Regions from separate parts of the Homo sapiens genome. Here regions 1 and 3 are each linked to region 2. Evidence: promoter capture Hi-C in 16 types of primary human blood cells and fetal thymus (Javierre and others, 2016). All regions are on one chromosome and are shown on one strand. The core of a region is centred on a gene start or on the middle of the fragment in contact, and the rest is flanking DNA. Distances in the headings are between cores, read along the strand shown.

Evidence for each region. Contacts are between HindIII fragments. The CHiCAGO score rates a contact against its expected background, and 5 or more counts as called.
Region 1: a fragment that was not itself captured here is called in contact with the fragment with the promoter of CMA1 in region 2 in 2 of 17 cell types (erythroblasts and total CD8 T cells); the score reaches 7.1 in erythroblasts.
Region 3: a fragment that was not itself captured here is called in contact with the fragment with the promoter of CMA1 in region 2 in 3 of 17 cell types (total CD8 T cells, naive B cells and total B cells); the score reaches 5.9 in total CD8 T cells.

What each region holds. Positions count from the first base shown.
Region 1 is chr14:25,148,142-25,151,641 of GRCh38, reverse strand. All of the region lies in intron 2 of LINC02286 (long intergenic non-protein coding RNA 2286), which reads left to right. Among named protein-coding and RNA genes, the nearest start is that of LINC02286, 6.4 kb to the left of the region's middle. The HindIII fragment of the contact is 2,305 bases long and covers 214-2,518 here.
Region 2 is chr14:24,506,505-24,510,531 of GRCh38, reverse strand. It overlaps CMA1 (chymase 1), which reads left to right and starts at 2,267. Exons shown (of 5, transcript NM_001836.5): 1 at 2,267-2,354; 2 at 3,026-3,176; 3 at 3,928-4,027. The coding sequence starts at 2,297. RefSeq lists an enhancer at 2,459-3,658. The HindIII fragment of the contact is 2,718 bases long and covers 1,273-3,990 here.
Region 3 is chr14:25,130,026-25,133,668 of GRCh38, reverse strand. The region is part of intron 3 of LINC02286 (long intergenic non-protein coding RNA 2286); the gene reads left to right. Among named protein-coding and RNA genes, the nearest start is that of LINC02286, 24 kb to the left of the region's middle. RefSeq lists silencers at 561-610, 512-806. The HindIII fragment of the contact is 315 bases long and covers 1,618-1,932 here.

The sequences.
Region 1 (3,500 bases), core at 117-2,616, 640 kb before region 2:
TCCTAGACCTCAGGGCCTCATGAAAGACAGAGTTTGCTTAGATTTACTGATAATTTCACTTTGTGACTTCACTTTGTGGCCAGTCCTTTCTGGCTCTCTGATCTTCAGACCACAAAAATGTCATCCAGCTCTAAGTTTGATCCCAATTCTACGCAGACTAGAAAGGGCATGCTGGGACAATGACAAAACATTAATTTTGGGGGCAAACAAGCTTTGTTTCCAATAAATAACATAGAATGAATTCCTGGAACATAAGTGTGTTATGTTCACCATAAATGTGTTACATAAGTGCAGCCTGATCACATAATACTAAAAAATCAGTAAAAATACCGATTTGAAATTATTTTTATAGAAACATGATTTTACCTGAACTTCCCTATTATTTTTTCTATGGACTCAAAATTCTTCTCTTATTTTTATTTTATTTATTTTCAAGGAGAAATTCATTGTCCGATATTCACTTTTCAGAAAATTCAGTCAAAATTTGCTTACAAGCCGTGCAGATGTTTCTTATAACCACTAGGGGTCAGACTACTACGTTAGTAGAAGTCAAACCCAACTTGAAACGTGGTATTAATTGGTTGAGGATCAGGCTGACATTCTCCTGCATAAGAACAGAAGACTGACCATTTAAATTAAACATTTTATAAAGGAGATAATGAGAAAGAATGCATTTGACAAGAGAGACTCAGAAAGTTGAAACTATCATATATATAATAAATATAACATAGTAAAGAAATTTCATCCTTAATAAAAATTTCAATTATTCACTTGCTCATTCTCATTGGCAAGATATTACTCCAGTCTAAGTGGGCTCAGATCAGAGGATTAATCATTGAACTGGGCAAATGTTAAGAGAGCAGAAACAACTAAAATCATGAAACTGTCAACAAAAAAGAAGAAATCCTCATTTATAAAGGATAAACCACATGACTAGCAGAGGATTGAGATGAATGGCAGAAACATTTTTCCAATGGATTTCAGCCATGGTAACAATAAATCTGAGTCATCTCACAGCAATGGGTGTATTCAGGAGTGTGGGCAGAGGGCAGCTCTGGACTGGGCCTCTGTTCCACTCCCAGCTCTGCCACAAATTGACCCTGTGGTCCTGAACACACTCCTTCTCTTCTCCTGATCTCAAAATGTCTTGAGTAAGATTACATGATTTATAAAGAATCTTCAGGCCTTAAAATTAAACAGATTTATCTAACAATATTGTTACATAAAAGGTAAGAAAGTGAGGGGAAAACTTGCCAAGATTTAAGTTTTAACAAAAATTTTACAAATGAGGGTATTCACTCTCAAGATACATTATTACAAATTGTGTTTTTTAAAAATGGAACAAACTGAGATCATAGACCATATTTACTGTCAGACAAAGTAATAAAAAGTCAAAATTTATTTACATTTTTAATGATAGTGTTTTGAAGTAAATACTCTAAGTGTATATGTAAACATATATGCGGGTTATTCCCTGGAATGATAAACAAATTAAAAAGTGGTTACCTGTTGGGGGCGGGGTAGAATTAAATGGATATGGATAGTGTGGCTATAAGAATATAAGGTTTGCTTCTTCATATATTGTTTTGATGTTTTTGTGATTGTATTATATGATGTATTACATTTTTTAAATTTTGAATATATCCATTGCCTATTCAAATTTTTTAAAAATTAATTTTAAACTTTATACATAGGACAAAAATGTGGGCCAATACAAAAATAAACACAACTGAATATGAAAATCCTCCATGATTTGAATGGGGGTTAGAAATGACACAGGGATATTCGTTACTAATATAAGTTGGCAATACAACAGTGATACTGTGTTTTAAATGGCCTGCATCAAAATACCTCAACCAAATTGGTCACATCTTAATGGTTGTATCTAAAGATTTTATTTGGTAGATTTTTCACCTGTGCCCCAAACCCTCACTGAGCTGCTTATACCTCATATGACACCAAATCAGGAGAAGGAAGAAGTTCCTCCCTCCCCCTTTTTTCTTTACATACACACATGCATGCACACACAGGCACACACTGGCTTGTGTGTCAATGAATATTAATATATGCAAATAAACAATGGAGATGGTTACAGGGAAATTGATTCTGCAAATTGCTAACCTAACTCACAGCCTTCTCAATATACAGGTCAAATGTAATTTCTATCAAAATTCCAGCAAGAGAATTTGTAGATGTAGACAAGATTATGGTAAAATGTATATGGAAAGGCAAAGGAACTAGAATAGCTACAACCATTTTGATAAAGAATAAAGCAAGAAGAATTACTCTACTTGATTTCAAATTATATAGCTACAGTAATCAAGGCTACATGGTGATAAAATAGACACATACATTGATGGAGCAGAATGGAGAACCCAAAATAGACCCATACAAATATGTGCAGTTACTTTTTCACAAAGGTGCAAAAACAATTCAATGGAGGAACGATAACTTTTCAACAATGGTGCTGAAACAATTGGACATCCGTAAGCCAAAAAGATGAACGTGGCCCTAAGCTTCAACATCAAATTAAAATTAACTCAAAAAGTATTAGCCTGAGCAACATGGTGAAACCTCATCTCTAAAGAAAAGTACAAAAGATTAGCCAGGCATTATGGCATGTGCCTGTGGTACCAGCTACTCAGGAGGCTGAGGTGGGAGGATGGCTTGAGTGTAGGAAGTCAAGGCTGCACCCCAGCCTGGATGACAGGGCAAGGCCCTGTCCCCCCCACCCAAAAAAAAAGGATTAAAGATTTAAGTGAAATTTTAAAACTATAAAACTTTTAGAAAAAAGTAATAAGAGAAACTCTTCAGAATCTAAGACTAAAGAATTTTTAGATTTGACACCAAAATCATGCCATAAAAGAAAAGATTGATAAATTGAATTTCATCAAAATTTCATACTTTTTACAAAAAATTAGCCGGGCATGGTGGTGGATGCCTATAGTCCCAACTACTCTGGAGGCTGAGGCAGGAGAATGGTGTGAACCCAGGAGGCAGAGCTTGCAGTGAGCCGAGGTCACGCCACTGCACTCCAACCTGGGCGACAGAGTGAGACTCCATCTCAAAAAAAAAAAAAAAAAAAAAAAATTCACACTTTTGCTCTGTAAAAGGTTCTGTTGAAAGGATGAAGAGACAAGCTTCAGATTAAGAGAAAATATTTGCAAAAATGTATCTGGCAAAGGACTAGTATCTATAATACATAAACTATTCTAAAAACTTAACAAGGAAAAACCCAATTAGAAAATGAGCAAAAGACATAAACAGACATACTAGTGAAGAGGATATACAGGTGGCAAATAAGTACATTATAAGACATTTCACATCATTAACTGGCAGGGAAATGTAAATTAAAACTACAATGAGATATCATTACACACCTATTAGAATGGCTAAAATAAAAAATTGTGACAACACCAAATACAGACAAAAATGTGTAGAAACTGGATCACTCATACATTGCTGGTGGGAATATAAAATGCTACAGACACTCTGGAGAT
Region 2 (4,027 bases), core at 1,018-3,517:
CATAATCTTTACCATCTTTTATATAAAGGAAAATTAGACTTGACTCAGCAGAACTGAAATAACCCAGTCTCAACAGTTACTGCTTTTAACTTCAAGTACTGTGTCTCTAGGTGATACCTGCTCCAACAATAGTTTGGTCACATTTTCAATTTGATATTCTCTAGTCTCCCAACTTGATAACTGTACCCTAAACCATAAAGTTCACTACCAACATGCTATATATAAAATAACCAAAGGGGGAAGAAGAAAGAGAAAAAGGAAATCTCTTAAAATACACAGGTATACATATGACAAAGCAAAGAAGGAAATGTGAGCAGATAGCGCAGTCCTCGTTTCTGAAATTGGTCCCCTGACTGGGGCTATACCTATTCCATTTCCTCACCCTCAGCCAGGCAGGTGGAGCAAAACTTAAGTCTTGGTGGATCTGAATCTTGATGCTGTGGAGCTGTCTTACTAGCCCCAGACTACCTGCCTCTCAATTTCTAATTATATCAGTGAAAGCAAACAGCTTTGATTTGTTTAAGCCTCTGATTTTTTGGTCTAACTGATGTAAGACCACAAGACAAGAGTTCTCCAGCTCCGGATTCTCTTCTGTTCTGTTAATGGTGAAATGCCCAGAGAAGAGTTGCCAACTTTGGCAAATAAAAAATACAGGATTCCAGTTAAATTCAAATTTTAGATAAACAACAATTTTTTAGTATTAGTGTGTCCCATTCAATATTTGGACATACTTAACTAAAAAATGATTTGTTGTTCATCTGAAATACAAATTTAACTGGGCATTCTGAATATTCTCTGGCAACCCCCGAGAGAGTGAAGAAAGTGGTACAAGGACACTTAAGAAGACCAGATTTGAAAAGACATTACGGATGTGTTTAAATGTCTTATTCTAGAGAGAGTTAGAGCTGTAGGTAGAACTTGGGAAATTAAGTTAAAAGCAACAGAGGACCTGGCCAATATATACTAAGGAGTGGATCACTCTGGTCACAAGCCCAACCTGAGACCAAGGGCATAGTGAGATGATTTGGGAAAGGCACTTATACACTACTCATCCCCGTCTTTGAACTAAATGCCTTATAAATCTCCAAGAGAAATGACAGTCCACCATGTGGACTGCTTTCTGTAAGTCCAGGGAAAATAAAAGCTATGTGCTTGAAACCCACTTCTGATATTATAAGGTGTGTGATCTTTGTCATGTTAATGGGTCTGAGTATCAATTCTACAATTGTAAAGTGACAGTAATGGTGTGTCCCCAGGTTGTTGTGGAAAGCTTGATTCTTAATGCAACAGTAGGAAACCCCAACCTCTCTGGAGCAAACACCCTTCTACATCTTTACTTCCCCTGCACATTGGCAGGACTCTATTCCTCTATTTCTCTCTAGTGCTAGAGCAGAAAGGGACCTTGATTTGATATCAGGAAAATCTATTTCTGAACCATAAGCTATGATAGCTGATTTAAAAAATTGACTATCATGACATGATAATGATCATAATGGTAATACATATTGATAGGGTTGCCGTGAAAGTAATAATATATCTAAGAGTTGTGACAATATATGATACACCTAGACTCTCAGAAAATGCTAATTCCAATCCCAATTGCTCTTTGCATAAAGTTCTGTCCTAGGGTCTGTTCTTTTCCCACATCTACCCTCCTTGGATCTCTCTTCTGTCAAAAACATGTGGTTCAGAGGAGGAGAGAGATCCAGGTCAATGTTTTTCAAATTACAAGGAATTATCATTTAAATGGGGTTGTTGCTCAAGTTTTGACGTGTAGTGGAATGGAGTGGAGTGGAGTGGAATGGAAACTAACAGAAAACACTGCACATGGTTAAGATAAAGATTGTTTCCTGAAACCTTTAATTTGTGCTTACATACTCACACATACATATGTGCATGCACTGGGACTCTGCAATATGCATTTCTGACTATGGAACATAGCCATAAAAGTCTTTGCACTGAACGTTCAGTGGGCCTTTCACAAGCTGCCCTAATTGGGAAAGAAAAACATGGTCCCTCCATTTCCTGCCCCCAACTCCAGAAAAGTCACCATAGTTGAGGGTACATCTGAGAAGCCAGCACTTGGGAGTTCAGGGCTCAAGTTCCTTTCTAGAAAAACACTGGGTGATTCTAGGGGAACTTCTGATCAGAAACAGCCAATTCAGAGTGAGAGAAGAAAACGTGACCATGCAGTTCCTGTGGTTACCAGCCTTGCCCCTCTCTTGCCTTCTGGGAGTTATAAAACCCAAGACTGGAAAGGAAAACCAGCATTTGCTCAGGCAGCCTCTCTGGGAAGATGCTGCTTCTTCCTCTCCCCCTGCTGCTCTTTCTCTTGTGCTCCAGAGCTGAAGCTGGTGAGTATCAGGGTTCTTCCCTCTGAAATCTGCAGTATCAGCTCCTGAAACAAAGATGTTTAGTCTGAAAATAGCTGACTCCTAAACAGGGTTCCAAGATCTCTCTTCAAGAGTCCCAGAGGGAAATTTCCACTTGGGATGTGTGCCACCCCACCCCCACCCCCACCCACTGCCATTCTCTACAGCCTAGGACAGCCCCCAGGAACAAGGAATTTCACCTCAATTGTAGAAAAGCCCAGAGCAAGTGGAAGGAAAAGGGGTATCCCCAGGAAAACAGACATGTCCTCTTAATCTTCTGAGCATCAGGGCTACCCATTACTTTGTGACTTTCTCACTCTGTGACCATGCTCAAGAGCTATGGAGAAATCTAAAACAGGAACCTGGACAGTGGGTCCTACACAGAGACAGAGGAGGGTGGGCCAGGGCAAGGTGGGAGTGGGAGAAGTCTGAGATGAAAACATCAGAATGGAGCAGAGGCAAGAATGAGATTTCACCTGGGAGGTTATGGGTGGGGAAAGATACGAAATACAGGAGACAGGAGAGGGAAGATGGGCGGAACACAGGGTGAGAATGAGATTCCAGGGAAGCCTAGCTCAGCTTTAACCCAATTTGTCCATTCATTGGAGAGAGTATCTATGGCCGTGTTCAAACCCTGGGGTGCTCTGTTCCAGGGGAGATCATCGGGGGCACAGAATGCAAGCCACATTCCCGCCCCTACATGGCCTACCTGGAAATTGTAACTTCCAACGGTCCCTCAAAATTTTGTGGTGGTTTCCTTATAAGACGGAACTTTGTGCTGACGGCTGCTCATTGTGCAGGAAGGTGAGACAACAGGGTCTATTTATCTCCAAATGGGAGATGAACAACCAGAGTAGCATCCAGGAATACACCTGCACTGGGGACTGAAGAGGGGGTCCTGGGTCTTGTCAACTTTCAGGAGAGGGAAGACTTGGGCTGAAAGACTTTAGTCTGTGTTTGAATAGTTCCTTGAGCCTCAGTCACTGTGAGCTAAGCTCCCCTTCGGAGGAAAAGGAGGTCCTGTCCAAGGTCCCTCTTGTTGCAGTAGCACCCCTCACCCCTACCCAACTCAAGACACACGGCTCACTTTTCAGGGCCCCACCCAGTCTCAGGGCCACTTCCTCTATGGCCTTTTCAAGAACACTGGCCTCTAGTTCTCAGGGTCCTGAACCCATCATTTTATGGGAGGCAGAGAACAGGGTCTACATGAGACCCCCACTTTCCCGTTTAACTGATATCTCCTGCTTCAGGGGCTGGCCCTCATGCAGGGTTCCCTGAATTAGGAAGTGTGAACCCTGTCCCCTGAGTCCTCCCTGGCCTGTTCAGTCCCCAGCAATTCCAGGGGTCGTAGAAATTGTGTCTGTTTCCTGAGAAAGCTCTTTCATGAGTTAAGCCTGAGCCCTCAAATGCCACAAGTGGCCCATGAAAAGGGAGATGGGTAGAGTCCGGCGACCCAGTGACAGAGTTTAGTCCTCTTTTCTCAGAATGAGCTCACCTCAGAAGAAACCCCAAGCCATCACTGTCGCTCCTTTTCCTTCCTTCTTCCTCACAACAGGTCTATAACAGTCACCCTTGGAGCCCATAACATAACAGAGGAAGAAGACACATGGCAGAAGCTTGAGGTTATAAAGCAATTCCGTCATCCAAAATATAAC
Region 3 (3,643 bases), core at 526-3,025, 620 kb before region 2:
AGAGCTTTACCTAATGACGACTGACCAGAAATGGATGTAATTCAGTCAGTAACTAATATGAGTGATGTTTTTCTCATCATCTCCCTTTCAAAATCCTTCCTCAACCACAAGAAACTCAAGGAGTAAATGCAGAGATGTTAAAAGGTATAGACAGGACATCTAGGATTATAGGATTATTAGAGACTGTCTCCTCCAGACTCTTATCAAGCCTGAGTTAAGTGTAACGTGAAAATTCAATCCTTTCACTTCATTCCCTGATGAATGAAAACCAAAAGAAAATCTCAATCCAGACGCTTAGGAATGTGAGTTTCTAGACAGCTGAGTTTTCTAGCAAGATAAAAGCTAACGCTTTAGAACTAGATATATTTTTCCTTTTTGTCTAATGATTTTATTCTAATTATCACTTAGAACTGCCGTACAAATTTGAATTCGCCACTTCTCTTCACTTTTCAATTAATTTATCAAGTTTTCATATTCCCTATTATCAAGAGGCACGGTATCGGCTTCTTTAAGCCTTCTCCATGTACACACTGGGCTTTGTCCCTGGATGCTGAAGCCCTCACACTCCAGGAAGAGAGAGCTGCTTAGTTTTCAAGGCTGGGCTGGGAGAACCCGCATATAATTCTACGGAGTTATAACTGTCACTGCTCCTCTCTGCCACACGGTGGCACTGTTGAAGACTGGCTCTACCCAGTCATGCGTGTCCGCTGCTGCAGAGCCTCTGCCCGCCTAGACCCAGGTAGAAATTTCCGTGGCTCCCAGAGGAAGGACGGCCCCATCTCCCAGGGCTGAGCTCAGCCACGTGGTTGCAGCTCTTCCTTCCTTGCACTCTCGTGCCGCATACGCCAGCTTCCCCAAATGCTGCCCACCCCCGAGGGATGCCGTTCAGGACTCTTCCAACATTCACCACTTCTCAGATCCAGAATCCTTTTCTCTCTTCCCTCCCTCAGAATGGGGTGTATAGTTGGATTTTAAACCTTCAAAACACAAAAGTTCTTATTACAGCCCTCTTTCCTGTACAACCTACACCAACCTCTCTCAGGAAAGCTATCCTCAGTGACTCCTAGGTGCCCTTACCCAGCCCCAGCCTCCTATTCACTTTCCTGACTTCTTAGACAAGATACACTGAACACAATTTAACTTTTTGTTAACAAAAAGCTTTAACAAAAAAGTCTCACAGCCATCATTATGAACATCATAGTTTGGTTTGGTTTGGCCGTGGGATTTTTTTTAAGGTAAGCATACACGTGTCTTTTGTATTAGAAAAATTATAGATTGGAGACATGATTTGACAATCCTATTGCAGAACTAATATTTTGGGGAGATCCTTGATTTCTAACCCATCTCTGGCTGGGAAGCACATGCTCTTTGCAGTTCACCATGTGGCCTCCCCACCTCCCTGCCTCACTGCCTCTCTACCCAGGACTCTCTGACATATGCCATCACTTCTTCAGTCTTACTCACTTCTTTTTTACATACATATCTTTATGCTTCAGCTAAATTTAACTATGACCATTTCTCCAAAAACAAGCTATAGTTTCCCATCTCTGTGCCTTTGCTCATGTTGTTCCTATTTTCCTAAATTGCCCCTTATTTTATCCCTGCCTTTTGAAAGCTTAACAACCCTTTGAGGTCCACCCACACACTAAATCCTCCTCCAGGTTTTTTATAATCCCTCCCGCTGAATGTGATCTCTTCCTCCTTTGTACTTCCACAGCAAATTATGCATTATCTCTTTTAAGATAATTTCATTCCTACATTGCCAACATTTGAGATGTTGACTTCAGTGAACATAGAATTTTAATTTTTTTTCTACAGCATTGAGAATAGCATCTTATACTTAGTAAGCATTTAGTAAATACATACTGGATGGAATTTCATTGCCAAACGCATACTTGAACCTTTAGTAAAATTCTTCTGCTAATCTAAGCTTGGTCCCTTTTAGCGTACTCTAATCGCATGAGGATTAAATTCAAAAGAGAAAATATAAAATAGGAAAAAAAGGAGGATACTGAAGTTTTGTATAGGTTGCAAAAGTCCCAAATGGTTCTGAGAGCTAGGAATTTCTACTTATACGTTCAGTGACCTCACGGCATAGAAGAAAATCATCCATGTTTGCAGCTGAGAAAGATAAATGGGGAATTGGGGGATGTAAAAATGGGGGTGTCATTTCATAGAGCTGATCACTCTCTCTTCTCTTGGTTCCCATGATGACACTCTTGCTTTGCTTTCCTGACATCCAACTGATCCCAGTTCCCTCTCCTCAATCTCTTGATGCTGGAGTACCCCAGAACTTAGTTCCACCTCTTCTATTGTTCTCCATCTACCCCTTCTTCCTAAGAGGTTAACTTTGCCACATGAGCAACTTACAATCCACTAGAAAATGACTGATAAGGAGCACTGATCTTAACCATCATAATATATTTCCAGCTTCTGACATTGGCACAGAGACTTGCAGGCTGTGAGTGACAGGTGGCAGTGAGTGTATAAAATCAGAACTTTAGTTCACCTAGGTGTTTCTTTGGGCATGTGATGATTTGTAAGACTTGTGAATAAAATCAAGTGCATGTTTGAGAACCAGCCGTACCCAGTGATGTGTATCTCCTGCTTCAAAGAGCTTTTGCTGGTCTAGACCCAGGTAAAGATTTCTTTTACCTGGAAAGAAAAGGATAAGTAGAAATGATCCTGAACCAATGTTTTTCCTTCTGCTTTTCTTGATGGTAATCAGAGAACTCCACAGACATTAGACCTCATAAGGCAAGTCACTGTGTGTTTACACATGCCAAATGTTTTGTTCTTTGGAGCCTTTTTAAGAATGGAAGAAAATAAAAAATGCAAGAGCCTTTTATGATCATTTATTGTACCGCTGCTAATTTGAAGCCTGCCACTCATAACATGGGGAATGATGATTACTATACATATAGTACTATATACATAGAAATATATAGTAATATAGATATCATCATATACATTTATATATAGTATATATTATATACAATAATATATAGTATTTAATATATACGATAATATATCGTACATAATATATACGATAATATATCGTATATATTGTTTATACATAATATACTATATATTCCTATTTTCCTAAATTGCCCCTTATTTTATCCCTGCCTTTTGAAAGCTTAACCATCCTTTGAGATATATATTATATAATGTTATATATTATAGCATATTATATATTTTATTATATTATATAGCATACATAATATAGTATATATAAAACAATATATACTATATATAGACATGTCTATATATAGTATATATAGTAATATATGTTACTATGTCTATATATAGTATATATTGTTTTACATATAACATATATAGTAATATATATTACTAGATATTAAAATATATATAAAAATATTACTGTATATTTCTATATATAGTAATCTTATTATATATTACTATATATAGAATAAGATTACTATATATAGAATATATTCTATATATTTCATATATATAGAATATATTACTATATATTTCATATATATAGAATATATTACTATATATTTCTATATATATAGTAATCATCATTCCCCTTGTTATGAGTGGCAGGCTTCAAATTAGCAGTGGCACAATAAATAATCATAAAAAGTTCTTGCATTTTTTATTTTCCTTCCATTCT